Regions from separate parts of the Homo sapiens genome. Here region 1 is linked to region 2. Evidence: promoter capture Hi-C in 16 types of primary human blood cells and fetal thymus (Javierre and others, 2016). All regions are on one chromosome and are shown on one strand. The core of a region is centred on a gene start or on the middle of the fragment in contact, and the rest is flanking DNA. Distances in the headings are between cores, read along the strand shown. Region 1 overlaps DYNLRB2-AS1 (DYNLRB2 antisense RNA 1). Region 2 holds the start of CDYL2 (chromodomain Y like 2).

Evidence for each region. Contacts are between HindIII fragments. The CHiCAGO score rates a contact against its expected background, and 5 or more counts as called.
Region 1: a contact is called between a fragment that was not itself captured here and the fragment with the promoter of CDYL2 in region 2, in 8 of 17 cell types (M2 macrophages, M0 macrophages, naive CD8 T cells and 5 more). The highest score is 8.4, in M2 macrophages.

What each region holds. Positions count from the first base shown.
Region 1 is chr16:80,513,417-80,518,111 of GRCh38, reverse strand. All of the region lies in intron 2 of DYNLRB2-AS1 (DYNLRB2 antisense RNA 1), which reads left to right. Among named protein-coding and RNA genes, the nearest start is that of DYNLRB2, 25 kb to the left of the region's middle. The HindIII fragment of the contact is 2,220 bases long and covers 2,326-4,545 here.
Region 2 is chr16:80,801,108-80,805,951 of GRCh38, reverse strand. CDYL2 (chromodomain Y like 2) reads left to right here and starts at 1,354. Exons shown (of 7, transcript NM_152342.4): 1 at 1,354-1,802. The coding sequence starts at 1,779. RefSeq lists silencers at 1,074-1,133, 1,154-1,463, 2,074-2,143, 2,424-2,573. The HindIII fragment of the contact is 3,614 bases long and covers 1-3,157 here.

The DNA of each region.
Region 1 (4,695 bases), core at 2,186-4,685, 290 kb after region 2:
AGGACCTATGCATAGAATTATCTTAGTGGAGCAGCTCAAATGTGGATCAAAGCAGTTGAGCTACTCTGGTGACTCATATACCAGTATTGCCACTGTTGTAAATGTGTGATTTTTCTAAATGATGAATAACTTCTGAAGTTCTGAGCAAAACAAAGTATACTTTTCCCTTCATTTACACAGCGGTCGCTTTCCTGGAGAATTCATTTACATTAGCCCCATGCAAAAAATACCTATATTAATAAGTAAAATGAAATCAGCTTCTGGTCATTTTTATACATATGTATAGGGATTGGCATGTGGGAATGGGAAGTGAGACAGTTCTCTTATCCACTATGCAATATCCAAGCCCCTGCTCACTAAATGCCACAGTGTCCCCTCCCCCTTATGTGACAACCCAAACTGCCCCCACATATTTCCAGCATGTCCTCTGGTGAACCATTGGCCTGTAGCAATGGACTTCTAAGCTATAATTAGGATCAACATAAATTTCTTAGGTTAAGAAAATAACTTCAGAAAACAGAATGGAGAGAATGATTAAGCACAAGAAAGGCTAAGAAGAGTTCAGAGACTTTTGTGGACGGCAAATGAAGTATTAGTAAATAATGTTAAGAGACCTAATGTCCTCAGGCTGATTGGAAGAAGTACAATAACTGGATCAGTGCTGTCTAATAGAAATACAATGTGAATACGTACGTAATATTAAATTTTCTAGTAAGCAAATTAAAAAAGATAAGAAATAGGCGAATTGACTTGAATATATTTTATTTAAAACAACATACAGAAAATATTATTGTTTTGAGATGTAATGGATATAAAAAGTGTATTAATGAGATCCTTAATTTTTTTTTTCTTCACTAAGTCTTTCAAAATCCGGGAGTATTTGCTCACAGTATAGCTCACATTTCAAGTGCCCATGGGTTCTGTCTTGCTCCTGAGCAAGTCTTATTTGGTTATCACAGCACTTACAAATGGAATTCTGTGTTTTCTAGGATGCTGCTGAGGGTGGGATGAGAAGTCCCAACTCAAACTGTCTTAAACAATGAAACATTTGTTCTCATACAGAAATTAAAGTTAGGGTACGCTCTAGGACTGGTTGGTTCAGCGATTCGTGGCATCATCAAGGATGCAGGTGCCTTCCATGTTTCCATCCTGATTTTCTCAATGCGGGTCCTGCTCCTCAGGGTTGTAAGGTGGTGGCCAGTGGCAAGATGGCGGCTCATGCTTCTTTGTTTGTGTCCAACAGCAGGGATGAAGACATTTTTCCCTAAAATATGAAATATCCATTCTTTCTTTCAGACATATTGGGCAAACATGCCATGTCTCGACTGACTTACACAAATCATCTGGGTCAGAATATTGGATCCCTTCTTGTGATTGATGCAAGAATGGCTTTGGCTGGACATTTTCTTTTCATTTACTCACCATGAGGCACACTATTTCTTGTTGTCTTGTACTTGCTTTCTTTATTCAGTTACTCTACGTTTCTGTCCCTGGAAGTGTTTGAGTTTGTGGCTGCCTCTTAAACACAGGCTCCAATCATTGTTGACGGAGCCACACATGCAACATTGCATTAAATTTTGATGTGAGAGGATTTAAGAGAATGAGAGGAGGTTTAAAGGAGAGAGCTAAAGTGAAAAGGGAATTGACATCATGTCGTATGAGGAAAGTCGAAGGGAATGGCCTTGTAAACCTATGAGAAGTGGAGGGCTTGTGGGTGGGATAGAATACCCTCATCTTATCGATGAGGGTATGTCTACTTGTAGCAGTTCTGTGCTCCCATCAAATTAGCTGCTTCAGCCAGGCGTGGTGGCTCATGCCTGTAATCCCAGCACTTTGGGAGGCTCAGGCGGGCAAATCACTTGAGGTCAGGAGTTCGAGACCAGTCTGGCCAACATGGTGAAACCCCTCTCTACTAAAAATATCAAAATTAGCTGGGAGTGGTGGTGAGCGCCTGTAATTCCAGTTACTCAGGAGGCTGAGGCAGGAGAATTGCTGAACTTGGGAGGCGGAGGTTGCAGTGAGCTGACATGGCGCCACTACATTCCAGCCTGGGCGACAGAGCAAGACTCTGTCTCAGAAAAACAAACAAACAAACAAACAAAAAAACAGAAAAGAAAAAGATTAGCAAATTAGCCGTCTCTAATTTGTTCTGGATCTGGAAGCCAGATAATGAAACTTGTTAGAATAACAAATGGGCTGTGAATGAGAGGCTGAGGTGCTGTCCTATGAATATAGTGTTTATATATTAATTCATGAACTGGGTTACCCCTTGCCCACCTCTCTCAACTCACTCCTTTTTGAGATATATATTTGAGGCCTTAAGCTTAGTTCTGGGTAGGCTTCTAACACATCACCTTGTTTCTGTCTCAAGACCTTTTCATTTTCTCTTCCCTCTGTCTAGAGTGCTGAATAACAAGAAAGGTCATCAAAGACATGATGAAATATTTTTAGATATTTTTAAGACAAGCCCCAAAAGTGTCTCTCTTACTTACATCCTATTGGCCACATGGTTCTAATCTAACTCCAAGGGAATCTGGGAAATGTAGTTTTTTGTGTACCCCAAAAGAAGAAACACATAGCACTACCTCTGCGATGTGATCCTTGGCGGCCAGTCTCACAAGGGTTCATTTTTGACCAACGCCAATAGAGTTCAAGAGAATCTCTTCCTTGAAGGAATAGTTCTCTATCATCTCCAAGTTTTAGCGCCACCCACACAACACTATAGCCACGCACATGAAGGGAATATGTTCCGAAAAGGAGCTAAATCAACTAGCTAGTGCATCTTCACCCTTTGATGTGGGAGACTTGTGTTCATTTCCCTAGGGCACCCTTAACATCTTGCACCACTACGTGTAACCCCTACGGAATCCAGACATTAATAGTTCTTTGGGCAATTCACAATCAAATGAATAGCCAAGTTATAGTAAATAGGGAGAAAGTAGAAATCCTTCTAAGTCAAAGGGAGTGTAGGCCATTACTATGTTATAGAAGGAATTTCAGGACAGAGGGATGAACTGTTCCTCAACCCCAGAGCAGTTATAATAGTTAACACTGGCCATGTGCTCACTGTGAGCCATGCCTTGTGTGAACATATTCCACAAATTACTTTACAATTCCTACAACAAACATCTGAGGGAGTATTCTTATTCCCATTCTACAGATGAATACATTGAGACCTCCGGAGGTCAAGTGACATTCTGAAGTCATGTGATAGTGAATGGTGGTGTGTAATTCCAACCCAGCTGTCTGAGTCCAGAGCCAATATGTTACACTCTAATGACTCTGGACCCTGTGAAGTTAAATTCAGAAACCTGAGATTGTGCTGCTCCTCAAACTAGGATTGATGTCATCCTATGAAATAAAGAGCAAGTTTGGGACTCCTGCCTAATGACCCTGTGGAACTGATCAGTGTCACATGATCCTAATCATGTACAGCAGAGACACACATGTACATATATAATCTCAATGCTCTAAAGTCAGGTGTGCCATTGGGCAGTACACAATCAATTGTCAAACACATGGCACTAGCAATTGAGTGTTAAGCTGTCTCTACAAGGTATAAATAAGAATGTGGAAAGAAAGAAGTTTGCTAGATACAGGATGCCAGCTGTAATTTCAAGAAAATGTTGATTGCATGTTTTAGGAACTATTCCACAAAGCCTTGCTCCAGTACAGATTTTCCTTGTAAGGTAGCATGAAAAAAAGAGAGAGAAATTTTTATTTTTATTTGGTGTTTATTGTTTCTTCGTCAGCAGCTGTGCCGATGTGGTGTTGATTATGCAGAGAAGAATTATTTTGATTATTGACAGTTGGCATTCTTCTCATAATTTGGAGTTCTTCATCTCAGAATTGTTTCCTCACCTCCTCTCCTGTCTGCACATGAATAAAAATTTAAACGCACTTGCCAGGATTCTTACCCAAGGCAGCTGTTAGGAGGACTGTAGTTGAAAGTTCAGATGCAATTTGATGTAAACCTCTCCCTGCCGTTTGTTCCTTTCTGTGAGCCTGACTTCAGAGCAATGGAGCTTGCATGGTTCATCACCAGCATCTGAAAGGCCTCCCCACAAAGAAAAAGCTATGCTCTGTGTTATGGCTTCATCCCCCTGCAACCTTATCTGCTGGCTGTGTGCCCCTCTCTCCCAGCAGCGTTCATTCGGAAATGTACTTCAACGGGTTACCCGTCAGGGTTGGCTCACACGAATACTCTGTGCTACTTTCTGTATTTTTTTCTTAGAAAAAAGACTGCTTAGAAAAACAAAAACAAAAGTGATCTATAGATCCCCTTTCAGGTGATTTTCTTTTGCCTTTTTTTCTTTTCTTTTTCTTTTAAGACAGGGTCTCACTCTGTTGCCCAGGCTGGAGTGTAGTGGCAAAATCACGGCTCACTGCAGCCTTGAACTCCTGGGTTCAAGCGATCCTTCAGGTGATTTTTTAAGTGGTATATGTAACAGAGTTCTTTGGCTCCTTGTCTTGCATCTCCTTGATCTAATTCTCTTTCAACTTCAGGTGAGACACACCTCAAATGACAGAATCCCACATCAAGCTTTCTCTCCTGGGGAGTTAACCCCCCTGGGGCTAACCCTTCACAAAGGCGGGATGGAAGCCAGTGGAAAAGTACCCAGCTTTTCCTCCTTTACCTACTGTTCAGAGATCCCAGAAGAATCAAACCCTGGTGTCTGCAGCAGTGAGCCTGTG
Region 2 (4,844 bases), core at 105-2,604:
CCTATACGAAGAACAAGAATGTTCCAGATGGATTCAATGTGGAAGGACATTCTAGGCAGGGGGAACAGCAAATGCAAATCCATGTGTCCTGGAATGAGCCAGACATGCTTCAGGTTCCATGGAGTTTTTTTTTTTTTTTTTTTTTTTTGGATTAAAAAATTTGGTGACTTTTCAAAGTTTGACAACCTCAGGATTAAACAATTTATCGAGCCCCTCTGCCATCTCACTCTCCATGAGGGCAGTCCAGGTTGAGACTCAGATACAAATCACCTTTATTGAGTTCTGCTGGGATGGACAGGTCACTTCATGTATACGTAGATCCTCTCCTTAATTCTATTTAAATCACTTAGGTGACTATCACCATCTCCCATCAGGGTTCGGTGACCTGCCCACAGCCTCCCAAGTAGAAAATGATCCAGGGAGCATGTGAGTTAATGATACATCACATCTGGAGCCAGGCAGGCATTTCATGGGTGGGGATGAAGATCTTCCCTCCAATTTCAGAAGTCTGACCTTGCAGGTTCTGAAGTAACTATATACATAAATATTTATAAGGAGAACCCTTTAAGCAGAGGGGTGACCATTTATCCATGAGAGATGGCTTAGGAACGGATTTGGGTTTTGGAGAGCTTCTCTAGCTCCTCCAGCTCCGCAGCCTGTCACACGCAGGATGACCTTTTAGAACAACTGAGTGCTCCATTACACTCCTCACTTGCGGATTCAAACTGTCTCTGGGCAGGGTCCCAGTTTTGCCTGTCCAGGGACACTGTGCACTTGGGTTGACTTTGGTAAATGTTTGAGTAAGGGATGAGTGAATAAATTCGGGGAGAGGGGTTGTTGAGGGAAGGCCACCCCTGGCTCTAAAGACTTTCCAGGGTTTATGGGGTGGCCACGCCTGTCCTGGATCCCCATGGTGCCTCTGGATGGGCCATTTCATCCTTCCTCCCTGTGGCCTCCACATCTTACAACCCAGCCTGGAGGGAGGGGCCGCGCAGCCCCGAGGGGCCAGGTCTCCCAGGCGGCGTCCACTCCCCTCGAGGGTGGAGGAGGTAGGTGGGGACCCCGGGCCGGCGGGGCTCGGCTGGGGCCCCTTCCCTGAGGTCTGCAGCCGCAGCCCTCTACCTGGCTCCCCGGCCGCCCCTTCGCGGCCCCAGATCGGGCGCACCCGGCGGGCACCTGGCCCGCCGCCCCCCGGGGGCCCCGCCAGCTGCTCCCGAAGCCGGCCCGGGGTGGCGGGGCGGGCCCGAGCGCTAGTCGACTCTGGGACCGGTCCCCCGGGGCGCGGCCGGGCAGCAGCCCCCGCCTCCCCGCCCCGGGGGCCGGGCCGGGCTCCCGGGGGGCGGGGACTCGCCCAGTGGCAGCAGCGTCCGGGCCGGCGGCGGGCGCCGGGCGGCTTCCTGCAGGCGGCGCCGGGGCGAGCCGTTGCCGGCTGCAGCCACCGCCGCCGGGTCGCCGGGTCGCGGGGGCCGCGGCGCTCGGGCCGCGTCCGTGCCTCCCGGGCGCGCTGCGCGGCCGTCGCTGCTGCCCGCGCTCGTGCCGCCGCCGCCGCCGCCGCCGCTGCTGCCGGTTACGCCAGCCCCGCCGCCGCCCGCTCTGATTCTGCGCATAGGCAGCCCCCAAGCCTGTCATTCTGCAAAAACACAGTTTACTCAACACACCACACACACTCGCACACACACGCGCGCACACACACGCGCACACCGGACCCCGCGCGCACACGCACGGAGGGCGCGAGCGAGCAGACGCGCACACCGGCGAGCCAAGTTCCGCAGCCTGGCATGGCTTCTGGGGACCTTTACGAGGTACGGGGACGCGGGGGCGCGGGCCGGCCCCAGTCAGCGGGCGGCGGCGGGCGGCGGCGGCGGGCGGCGGGGACCGGGCCGGGGCCGGGGCCGGGCGCAATCCGGAGTTGCCGAGCCCGCGGCGGCGGCGGCGGCGGCCGGAGGGTGGCGGGGGCCGGGCGCGCCTCCCGCCCGCCGCCCGCCGCCCGCCGCCTCCCGCGGCGCCCGCGCCCGCTCCCTCTTTCTCTTTCTCTCGCACACACACTCTCTTACTCCATCTACTTTGCGGCCTTGGAGGGGAAGGAGGAAGCCGGGCGGAGCCGGGGCGGGGGAGGTAGCGGTCCCGGGGAGGTGTTTCTCGCCCGACGAGCCGCCTCGAGTACAGAAAGTACAGGTAAAAGTCGGCGCCGGACGTGCTGGGAATGCGGGGGGGCGCGCCGCGGCCGGCGGGGGTGTGGGGCGGGGGTTGCGCGGCCCGGCTGGGCCGGGGGCGCGGGGGAGGAGGGGGGCGGGCGATCGGAGCGGAGCCTGGCCGGGGCGAGGCGGGGTCCCGGGGGGCTGCGAAGGGGGAGGCTGGGTGGGGGTTCGGGGGGACAACCGCCAAACCGCTCCCCGGGGTCCCCGGGCCACCTCCCTCACCCCCCACCTGCTGCCCCCGCACCAGCTCGGACGCCCTCCGGGCTCGGGCGTGGGGGTGGCCCTTGCGGGTGTCGTGCTCCCTGGGGGCGAAAGGGGGCGCTGCGGAGGGCCCTGGGTGGGAGGAGAACGTGGAAGTCTGAGGTGTTGGGGACATAGGACACAGATGCCAGCCCAGCGCCCAGTACTCTCGTCACCCTCAGTGGATACCTGGCTCCAGGTCCTAATGAGTAGTGGCCAGCGTTGGATACTCTCATGTCTTCCCAAAAGTGGCGAAGGAAGACATTAGTCTGGCATCTTTCAAACAATGGAGGAACACCCATGGTCTTTGGGGAGCAAGGGCTTAGGAACACAACTGTTACTGCTTTGGGTTTTCCACAAGTGGACAACACAAGGAACAGCCAGCCACCACTCCCCAGAGGGAATGGCCTCAGAGGTGTTGGCCGCCAAGACCAGGTTCAGGATAAAGAAGTTAAGAGACCAGCCATCTTCAACCAGAGGGCCTTCTGGGCCTCCGTGAAACCAGCCGCATGGGTTAGCCTGGACCTGCACTTCCCGGAACATAAATTGGTTAACGCCATCTGGTTCTTAAGGCTTTGGGGCTCCATTGAGATAAGCACCCAGAAGGGGTAGAATTAGCCTTTTGCATAAGACATTGTAGGGTGATCCACCCACGACAGACTGCAGGGGGTGATTCCTAAGAAGCTCTTTCCTCTAGGCCCTCGTGGGCAGTTGAAGCTTTTTCAGGTGGTGGGTTTGCTGACTGGCGTTAGAGAAGAAGAATGGAGAAAGGAGCACAGGTCTCCTGTGTGACCATGTTCTTGTGAATGATTCTGGAGTTGGTGAGGCCCAGGCCTGGACTGCCGGCCAGCAGGTTCAGGTGGGGTGGGTGGGAGACCTTAGAGCTCCTTGAAAGAATGGTGTATGTTGCCCTCTTCACTACCCTGTGGCCGTCCTCATCTCTATGCTAAGAGACAAGGTGAAGTTGGATAGAGATCTTGTGAAGAACTTCGGCAAATGTGGCCAATGGATCACCCAAGCGCCTTGGTCTGTTTCAAGATGGTGGAACAATTTCTGAAATTGAAAATTGAAGCACAGTAAAATAGAAGGTTTGATTGAGTTTCCTTATGTGTAACCAGTACTGTGGGGACATTGGCTAAAAGTAGATATTGTTTAGGGGTGAAAGTGATCTGGTTGGAATCATGGTTTTCTACGAATTGAGGTTGAGTCAGCTTAGAGCTGTTGACCTTGCCTGAGTGAAAAGTTGTGTCTTGAAGGTGTTAAGAGGATGTACTAGGAGTCATCAGTATTTCCCCATTTAAAGTTTAGAACTTATGAACCTTCTGGGGATAATTTCTTGTTTAATGTTCATCTGCAACTGCCCTCCTTAACGCTGGTAATTGTCGTTGCCAGATTAGTCTGTTAAGAGGAGAGTTTTCACGGTGGCCTTGGAACTATCTTAGTATCTCAAGAGTTTTTATAGAATTTCAGTTAAGGAGGACAATAATAATAATTACTTCTGTGATAGTAGGTAATTGTACTAGATGGAAAATGGCTTTCCCATGGCTGATTATTTGCATAGTCATTACTAAAAGGGCTAAATTGCATTACGAGAATATAACGAATGTCAACATTTTTATAGCCTGTGTCTACATTACATAACATATACTGAGAAATTTAATTTATTGTTCAAATTTAGCTTTAAGAACAATTAAGAAGTGCTAAGTGTACATTAGCATATATATTTCTGACTGTAAAGTTGTTATGTGGGTAAAAAGTAGCATATTGATTTAAGAAAAATATTGGAATATCCAGTGTATGTTGACTGGCCTTGAAAGGAAAAAAAGAAAACAGATTTCATTCTAAATTATGAGACCTGTTTATTACTTTCATTAAATATTATACTAAAGTGTACATAAAATGGCTTCTCGCAATCTCTACTCAAGAAACCACGTTTTTAGTGGGCCAAGAGTTCTTACGTTTGTAATTGATATATTTCACCTGTGTGTCTGCTGACATTATCTTTGAGCCTTTATGGTGAAGTGTGATTTGGATTGTAGAGATTCTTCATCTTTTCTTTGGCATTTCAGACAATTAAGTTGTAAAGAGTGAACCTCCATAAAGCAGTTGTTAGGAATAGGTGCTGATTTTTAAAGACACCAGAAAACGAAAACTTTGTTTATGTAATAGCACTCTTCAATCATAGTGAAGAAATAAGAAATCAAGCTCAGGTTCCAAAATCTTGGATCTTGATAGATAGTTCTGGTTTGTTTCTCCTGTAGTGGAGTTCTCATCATCTTCTGGTGCATTGTAGCCATCACTTATAGGAAGGTGATTTTAAATTTTGGGTTATGTCTTAGAGTCAGGTATCTGTCTGGATCGAAAGTGAAATTTCTTAGCCAGATGCCCTGGTCTATATTCGGCTAA